2 separate regions of the Homo sapiens genome follow, and region 2 is linked to region 1. The links are contacts of gene promoters, found by promoter capture Hi-C in blood cells and fetal thymus (Javierre and others, 2016). All regions are on one chromosome and are shown on one strand. Each heading gives the region's core, a stretch centred on a gene start or on the middle of the fragment in contact. The rest is flanking DNA. Distances are from core to core; before and after follow the strand shown.

Region 1 (4,574 bases), core at 1,155-3,654:
AATTCAGTGTTTAAGTATATTCACAGCGTTGTGCAAATACCACCTCTGTCTAGTTCCAGAACACTTGCACCCCCCAAAAGAGGCCACATCACCATCAGCAGTCACTCCCTATTCCTCTTCCCCTAGCCCCTGGTAACCATCAATCTGCTTTCTGTCTCTGTGGCTTTCCCTGTTCTGGACATTTCAGTCCATATCAATGGAATCACAGGCCGGGTGCGATCACTCACGTTTGTAATCCCCGTGCTTTGGGAGGCTGAGGCAGGAGGATTGCTTGAGGCCAGGAGTTCAAGACCAGCCTGGGCAACATAGCAAGAGTCCGTCTCTACAAAATAAAAAATAATTAGGCACAGTGGCTTGTGCCTGTAGTTCCAGCTACTTAGGAGGCTGAGGTGGAAGGATCGCCTGAGCGTAGGAGGCTGAGGCCACAGTGAGCTATGATTGTGCCACTGCACTCCAGCCTGGGCAACAGAACAAGACCCTGTCTCTTAAAAGAAAAAAAAAAAAAGGAAACAAGGAAACAAGGCACCAATACATACATGATACAATGTGGTTGAACCTCAACAACACAATACTAAGTGAAAGAAGCCAGACACAAAAGGCCACACAGTGTGAGAGTACATTTATTTATTTATTTTGGAGACAGGGTCTCACTCTGTCGCCCAGGCTGGAGTGCAGTGGCGAAATCTCGGCTTACTGCAGCCTTGACCTCCTGGGCTCAAGTGATCCTCCCACCTGAGCCTCCTAAGTAGCTGGGACTATAGGTGCAGGCCACCATGCCTAGCTTTTTTTTTTTTTTTTTAAGGCAGGGTCTGACTATGTTGCCCAGGCTGGCCTTGAACTCCTGGGCTCAAGTGATCCTCCCGCCTCGGCCTTCCAAAGTGCTGGGATTACAGGCCTGAGCCACTGCGCCTGGCCCTTCGTTCCTTTTTATGGCTGAATATTCCTCCACTGCATGGATACGCCACATTTTGTTTATCCATTGTCCACAGCTAGACATTTGGGCTGTTTCCACGTTGGGGCTTTTTTTTGTTTTGAGACGGAGTTTTGCTCTTTCACCCAGGCTGGAATGCAGTGGCACAATCTCGGCTCACTGCAACCTCCACCCACCCGGTTCAAGCAATTCTCCTGTTTCAGCCTCCCAAGCAGCTAGGATTACAGGCACCTGCCACCACGCCCGGCTAATTTTTGTATTTTTATAGAGATGGGGTTTCACCATGTTGGCATGTGCCACCATGCCTATCTGATTTTTGTATTTTTAGTAGAGACGGGGTTTCACTATGTTGGCCAGGCTGGTCTCAAACTCTTGACCTCAAGTGATCCGCTTGCCTCGGCCTCTCAAAGTGCCTGGATTACAGGTGTGAGCCACAGTGCCTGGCAATTTCTGCTGTTTAAGCCACCCAGTCTGTGGTATTAGTTATGACAGCCCAAGCTGGAAATACAGACACTTTTCTCTGTGTAGTAAACACTCACTCACTTGCACACGTCATTCAATAAATATGTACTGGGCACCTAATACGTGTGCGATGCTGGGGAAAGAGGTGGCACAAATGAGCTTTCTGCCTGCATGGGACTCCCAGAGAAGAGCCAACACATGCAATCAGAGTCCTAATAAGGACACGCAGGGCGCCGGGGAAGCCCGGAGAGGGCTTCTGACCCAGCCTGGGTCAAAGGGCTTCCTAAAGGAGACATCTAAGGAAAAGTCTGAATGAGTGGGGGAGAGCGCAGCCTGCACGCGGGATGCAGGAGGTAGGCTGGAAAAGGGGGCGATTTGTATTCCAGGGAGATGGGAAGGTGTGGAGGGCGTTAGAGCCGGGAAGCCCAATCTATGGGTCACACAAGCCCTCTGGGGTTAGTGAGGAGGTGGACTCCCCAGATGGCAGGAGCTGGGAGCCCAGGCGGTACCCAGGGAGTGGCTCAGGCTGGGCGAGGGGCACACTTAGAAGCGAATCAAGACCCATGGGGATTAAGACCCCACGGATGTGAAGGTAAAATAACAGAATACAAAATTCAACAATGCCTCCTCTAAGCAGCCCTCCCGGCTATCCCTTTTGAAGTCCCCCACCACTAATCCCCCTACAAGAGGCCGGGGGAGTCCGCGCCCAACTCTGTCCCTCTCGAGACCAGAAGCTGCCTAGGGGCAGTCCGGGGCCAGGTGGCCTCGAACATGCTGTCGCGTCGGGCTTCAATCGTCTAGTCTGGAAATGGGCATCGCCCCCAACTAGGTGCGGTTCAGACTGGACGCCAGAAGTGCTCCTGCCTCCCAGCACCCCTCCTCCAGCCTTCCCAGGGGATGGTCCCAGGCCAAGCAGCCCCCGCCCCGCGCCTCTGCTCCCCGAACCCGGGTTCCGCCCGCGCCGCAGACGCTCCTACCTTCTTACCCCAGCGCCGGCCCGGTCGCGCCTCCGTGACGTCATCATGGGGCCTGCGCGCTGAGCTCCTGGCGGCGCGCACTCATTGCGCCTCAGTACCGCCGCCATTTTGGTAAAGAAAAAGATGGCTGGGCCTCGGACCCAAGCCAGGGTAGTCAGCCACTTCTTTGTCTCTTCAAAAAGAGGACACTTAATACGCCCTCATTCCCTACGCTCATTTAATATGTTGATGAACCAGGAGGGGCGGGCAGAGGCGAAAATCTAGAACATTGCCTTTACCAAGATGGCCGATGCCCGGATGAAAGATGGCAGCTGCGACTACACACGTGGTCCGGCGGCTTCAGCCTGGAGCGGCCCGGCCGCCAGAGCGCGCCCGCGGTCCATGAGGGGAGGTGGACCCAGTATAGCCCTGAGGAAGCCTCTCCGTAGCTCTTCGCAATCCCTTAACGCTTTAAAAGTGCTTTCCTAGTCCTGAGTCTCTGCGTCCCACTGGTGACGCTGGGGCGGGGCTAGGAGAGGGGAGATAAATGGGGCAGAGAAATTAACACACACCGCGCAGTCCAGGTAGGGAAACCGAGGCTCAGAGAGACCAGGAATTGAGTTTGGCCAAAATGTAACCGCGAGTAGGCTCATAACCGCGAGTAGGCTCAAATTCCGTCTCTTGCTCCTGCCAGTGCCTCTTCCTGGATTGCTGACCTGCTCCCCACTTCTGCAATATTATTTATTAATTTTATTTAGAAATTAGGTTTGAGGCGCCAATTTGTCTTAGGCACTATACTTTAGATTTTCTGCATTTACTACTTCTCGGTGTTCTCAACAGTAAAAATGGCAGTATTAGGGGTCTAAGGTTACACTGGTCCTGACTGTGGAGAGGGAAAAGCAAATGCTTTGGGGGCAGTTCAGGTAGGAGTAGTTGACCACAGAGTCCATTCCCTAAAAGGCATCCCCCCAGCGACCTTGCTGGGACCTAAATCCCAGTGCGCGATGCACCTCCCCTGCTCTAACGCCTCCCCTGGGTTCCCATTGTCCCGCAAGACTCCTCCCACCTCCCACCCCATCTCCCTTGGCTTCCCTCACCCTCCCATTAGCTCTCTGCTCAGGTCGCACCAGCCCCCTTCTTACAAATTGCCAGGCGCAGTCTTGCCTCAGGGAGTTCCCCCAGGAATTTCCCAGGTTTTTCCGTGGCCAGTTCCTTCCCTTCAGGCATGAGACAGAAAGGTCTCTGGGTGCAGGGGGCTTAAAGTCGGAAAATCACATGAAAGATTATTATCCTGGCTGGTCGCAGTGGCACATGCCTGTGATCCCAACCCTTTGGAAGGCTAAGGTGGGAGGATCGCTTGAGGCCAGGTGTTTGAAAGCAGCCTGGGCAACATTATGAGACCCCATCTCGACAGAAGATAAAAACATTAGCTGGGCGTGGTGGCATGCTCATCCTCCCATTCAAGAGAATCACTTGAGCCCAGAAGTTGGAGGGTGCAGTGAGGTATGATAGCGCCACTGCACTCCAGCCAGCCTGGGTGAAGGAACCTCTCTTAAAAAATACTAATAAAGGCCAGGCATGGTGGCTCACGCCTGTAATCCTAGCACTTTGGGAGGCCGAGCCAGGCAGATCACCTGAGGTCAGGAGTTTGAGACCAGTCTGACCAACATGGTGAAACCCTGTTTCTACTAAAAACACAAAAATTAGCTGGGCGTGGTGGCACATGCCTGTAATCCCAGCTACTTGGGAGGCTGAGGCAGGAGAATCACTTGACCCCAGGAGGCAGAGATTGCAATGAGCCGAGATCGTGCCATTGCACTCCAGCCTGGGCTACAGAGTGCAACTCCATCTCAAAATAAATAAATAAATAATAATAATAAAGGCCAGGCGTGGTGGCTTATAGCTGTAATCCCAGCACTTCAGGAGACTGAGGCGGGCAGATCACTTGGTGAGTAGTTCAAGACCAGCCTGGCTAACATGGTGAAACCCCATCTAAAAATTACCCAGGCGTGGTGGCATGCGCCTGTAATCCCAGCTACTTGGGAGGCTGAGGCAGGAGAATCGCTTGAACCTGGGAGGCAGAGGTTGCAGTGAGCTGAGATCACGCCACTGCACTGCAGCCTGGGTGACAGAGTAAGACTCTGTCTCAAAAGTAATAATAATAATAATAACAATAAAATAATAATCGTAATTGTGACTAAAAGATGTGCCTGGGGTTGAAATAG
Region 2 (4,482 bases), core at 950-3,449, 560 kb after region 1:
AGAAATGGCTGGTTGGGCACCCGTGGCAGCCCCCAGCCCTCCTTCCCCCACTAGCAGCCGCCGACGACGCCGCTGGGAAGGGTCCGGAATCAGGATCAGGAACCACCGGGTAGCTGCAAAGGTCAAAGGTCAGACATGGGTTTCCTGCCCACCCCTGGGAACTTCCTTCTTCTCAACTCTACACTCGCCTCACTGAGCACCACCCTGGAGTACCCCTCCGCTCTGTCAACGACCCCTCCCCACTCTGTTACCCTGGCTAATGGGGGGACGGGTCCCCACGCCCCAGCCTTCACATTGCCCTACAGAGGACAGCAATTGCATGATTGTCACCTGTCCGGAGTCCAGCCTCCTTTCCGGCTCCCTGCTCCTGTTCCTCCAGCCCACCCTGACTCCACAGGGTGGGGGGTACCTGTCCCAGTCTGTCTCCCAAGACTGGGAGTTGCTTGTGGCTGAGGTTGGGACTGACACCTCTTGGGGGGCCCTGGCATCACCCAGCATGGAGCAAACAAAGAAGGGACTCCAGGGAGGGTTTCCCTGGAGCTCCTGATCCTGGGAGATAGGCAGGACACACAGAATCCTTTGCTTCCGGGTCCCCAAATCCCCTCCAGGCCCAACTGGGGGGTGACCCACAGCGACCCCAGAAAACTCCCGTGGTTTTTTTGGTTTGTTTGTTTTTGTTTTTGAGACAGAGTTTCTCTCTTATCTCCCAGGATGGAGTGCAGTGGCCCGATCTCGCTTCACTGCAACCTCCGCCTCCCGGGTTCAAGTGGTTCTCCTGCCTCAGCTTCCCAAGCAGCTGGGATTACAGGTGCTCGCCACCACACACGGCTAATTTTTGTATTTTTAGTGGAGATGGGGTTTCACCATATTGGCCAGGCTGGTCTCGCACTCCTGACCTCAGGTGATCCGCCTGCCTCAGCCTCACAAAGTGCTGAGATTACAGGTGTGAGCCACTATGCCCGGCCGCCCATGGGGTTTTGAGTGTCGGGGGAGGAATCTCAGTCCCACGTATCCACCACTTGTCATTCACCATCTCACGGAGCCCCCAGCAGTGCCTCCAGCAGGAAATGATCCTAATCATAACAACAGCCACAGAGTGACGAGGCACTGGGTATACCCCGTCTCACAAAGGGGAAAAGGGAGGCACAGACATGCGAGGCCTCTTGCCCGAGCTCTCCCGGGACAAAGCCAGCTCTTCCCCGCTCCAAGTTCATTATTCCTTGTGCTGCAGTTTCCTGGAGCATTTACTGAGCATCTAAGTGAACAGGGCACTGGGGGCAATGACAGAGCTTGGGGAGCCAGCGCCACCGCCATCCATGGCTCAGCCCTCCGTGACGCCCTCCTATGCAATTACTAATCACCTACTGCTTCTCCATCCCTAGGCTAGCTAAGAGTTTCACACTTTTTCTGTTTTTTTTTTTTTTTGAAACAGAGTCTTGCTCTATACCCCAGGCTGGAGTGCAATGGCACGATCTCTGCTCACCGCAACCTCCGACTCCTGGGTTCAAGCGATTCTCCTGCCTCAGCCTCCTGGGTAGCTGGAATTACAGGCGAGCACCACCACACCTGGCTAAGTTTTGTATTTTTAGTAGAGACGGGGGGTTTCACCACGGTGACCGGGTTGGTCTCAAACTTCTGACCTCAGGTGATCCGTCCGCCTCAGCCTCCCAAAGTGCTGGGATTATAGGCGTGAGCCACCGTGCCTGGCACATTTCCCACGTTTTGTGGCACTTAATCAGCACCGCCCTGGTGAAGTGGGTGCACGTCTGTAGCCAGCCTGTCTTGAGGTAAGTCAAGTTCGCTGAACTAACAGCGTGAGACCCCGAGGCAACCCCTTCTCCTCCCTGTGCCTCAGTTTCCTCCGCCACACAAGGGAGACAGCAACAGACCTGGCATGATTCAGCGACCTAATCACAGCAGGTACTGAGAACAGCACCCGCCAGCAAGTAAAGGCGAACGCGAGGCTCGAAGAGGCCAGGAATGCCTGACCAGCCAGCCAGCGCCCCACCCAGCATTAATCAGAGGGGTCCAGCCGGTGCCCTGGCTCTGGGCCCCCAGCCCCACCCCCGCCTTCTCACAGCCAGAGTGGGAGTGTTGTGATAACCCGCAGCCCCCGTTTCCTCCGGGCCAGGAAGGAGCCAGGCAGAGGAAGTATTAAGAGGAGTAATATAAGCACTCCCCCCTGCGAGGCGGGGGCCAGAGCAGGCCTGGTGGTGAGCAGGGACGGTGCACCGGACGGCGGGATCGAGCAAATGGGTCTGGCCATGGAGCACGGAGGGTCCTACGCTCGGGCGGGGGGCAGCTCTCGGGGCTGCTGGTATTACCTGCGCTACTTCTTCCTCTTCGTCTCCCTCATCCAATTCCTCATCATCCTGGGGCTCGTGCTCTTCATGGTCTATGGCAACGTGCACGTGAGCACAGAGTCCAACCTGCAGGCCACCGAGCGCCGAGCCGAGGGCCTATACAGTCAGCTCCTAGGGCTCACGGCCTCCCAGTCCAACTTGACCAAGGAGCTCAACTTCACCACCCGCGCCAAGGATGCCATCATGCAGATGTGGCTGAATGCTCGCCGCGACCTGGACCGCATCAATGCCAGCTTCCGCCAGTGCCAGGGTGACCGGGTAAGGCTGTGGGCAGGACACTCGCCCTGGGGACCCTGAGCAAGCCCCCTCACCTCTCTGAGCCTGAGTTTCCTCATCCAAGAGAGGGGGACGATCACAGGACCAATGCTCTCTTTTCTTATGAGACAGAGTCTCGCTCCGTCTCCCAGGCTGGAGTGCAGTGGTGCAATCTCGGCTCACTGCAACCTCTGCCTCCTGGGTTGGAGTGATTCTCCTGCCTCAGCCTCCCGAGTAGCTGGGATTACAGGCATGTGCCATCATAACCGGCTCATTTTTGTATTTTTAGTAGAGATGGGGTTTCACCATGTTGGCCAGGCTGGTCTCAAACTCCTGACCTCAAGTGATACGCCTGCCTTGGCCTCCCAAATTGTTGGGATTACAAGCGTGAGCCACTGCACCCGGCCGATAGATTTTTTTTTTTTCCTTAAGAGACAGGGTCTCCATGTGTATCCTGGGCTGGATGGAGTGCAATTGCTATCACAGCTCACTGCAACCTCAATCTCCTGGACTCAAGTGATCCTCTTGCCTCAGCCTCCTGAGTAGCTGGGACTACAGGCGTGCACCACCACACCCAGCTAATATGTTTATATTTAGCAGAGATGAGGTCTCACTATGTTGCCCAGGCTAGTCTCGAACTCCTGGGCTCAAGCAATCCTCTCACCCCAGCCTCCCAAACTGCTGGGATTACAGGTGTGGGGCACTGCGTCCAGCTAAATTTTTTTTATTTCTTTTCTTTTTTTTGGAGGCAGGGTCTCACTCTGTCACCCAGGCTGGAGCACAGTGATGTGAGCATAGCTCACTGAAGCCTTGACATCCTGGGCTCCAGCAATCCTCCTGCCTCAGCCTTTTGAGTAGCTGGCACTATGGACATGCCACTATGCCCAGGTCATTTTTTATTTTTAGTAGACGTGGGGTCTCGCTATGTTGATCAGGCTGGTCTTGAACTCCTGGGCTCAAACAATCCTCCCTCCTGGACCTCCCAAAGTGCTGAGATTACAGGTGGGCACCACCACACCTGGCAATTTTTTTTTTTTTTTTTGAGACGGAGTCTCGCTCTGTCACCCAGGCTGAAGTGCAGTGGCACAATCTCGCCTCACTGCAACCTCCACCTCCCAGGTTCAAGTGATTCTCCTGCCTCAGCCTCCTGAGTAGCTGGGATTACAGGCGTGTGCAACCATGCCAGCTAATTTTTGTATTTTTAGTAGAGACGGGGTTTCACCATGTTTGCCAGGCTGGTCTCAAACTCCTGACCTCAAGTGAGCCACCCACCTCGGCCTCCCATAGTGCTGGGATTACAGGCATGAGCCACCGTGCCCTGACCTGGTGCCCTGGCTAACTTTTTTTTAGAGACAGAATCTCACTATGCTGCTGAGGCTGGTCTTGAACTCCTAGGCTCACCCTCCTAAAGTGCTGAGATTACAGGCATGAGCCACCATTCCCAGCCAGCAACATTTTTTTTAAACTGTAAGTATATTCCATGCAATATTTGAGATATAATTTTGAAAATAATATTCATTGTCTTTTTGGAATCCAAGTTTAATTCTCCTCCTGTGTGTTAATTGGCAGTCCTGAGCCCATAACTTACTATGCATGAAGCTCCCAGAATGTGCCAGCACTAATCAAAGGGGTCCAGCACACACAAGCTGCAAATAAGTGGCTGAAGACCGGCTACAGTAGCTCACACCTGTAATCCCAGCACTTTGGGAGACCGAGGCAGGAGGACCACCTGAGTCCAGGAATTTGAGACCAACCTGGGCAACATGGTGAAACCCTGTCTGTACAAAAAGTACAAAAATTAGGCCAGGCATACTGGCTAACACCTGTAATCCCAGCACTGTGAGAGGCCAAGGTGGGTGGATCA

What was found. The method cuts DNA at HindIII sites, captures the fragments that hold promoters and counts their contacts. A CHiCAGO score of 5 or more calls a contact.
Region 2: the fragment with the promoter of PLVAP here is called in contact with the fragment with the promoter of CCDC124 in region 1 in 1 of 17 cell types (neutrophils); the score reaches 5.3 in neutrophils.

The regions. Positions count from the first base shown.
Region 1 is chr19:17,930,845-17,935,418 of GRCh38, reverse strand. CCDC124 (coiled-coil domain containing 124) reads right to left here and starts at 2,404. Exons shown (of 5, transcript NM_001136203.2): 1 at 2,371-2,404. RefSeq lists a silencer at 2,242-2,291 and enhancers at 2,372-2,561, 2,582-2,641, 2,788-3,326. The HindIII fragment of the contact is 21,651 bases long and covers 1-4,574 here.
Region 2 is chr19:17,375,059-17,379,540 of GRCh38, reverse strand. It overlaps PLVAP (plasmalemma vesicle associated protein), which reads left to right and starts at 2,199. Exons shown (of 6, transcript NM_031310.3): 1 at 2,199-2,621. The coding sequence starts at 2,253. It overlaps LOC105372298 (a long non-coding RNA gene), which reads left to right. Exons shown (of 3, transcript XR_936362.3): 2 at 55-128; 3 at 711-751. RefSeq lists an enhancer at 1-381. The HindIII fragment of the contact is 29,677 bases long and covers 1-4,482 here.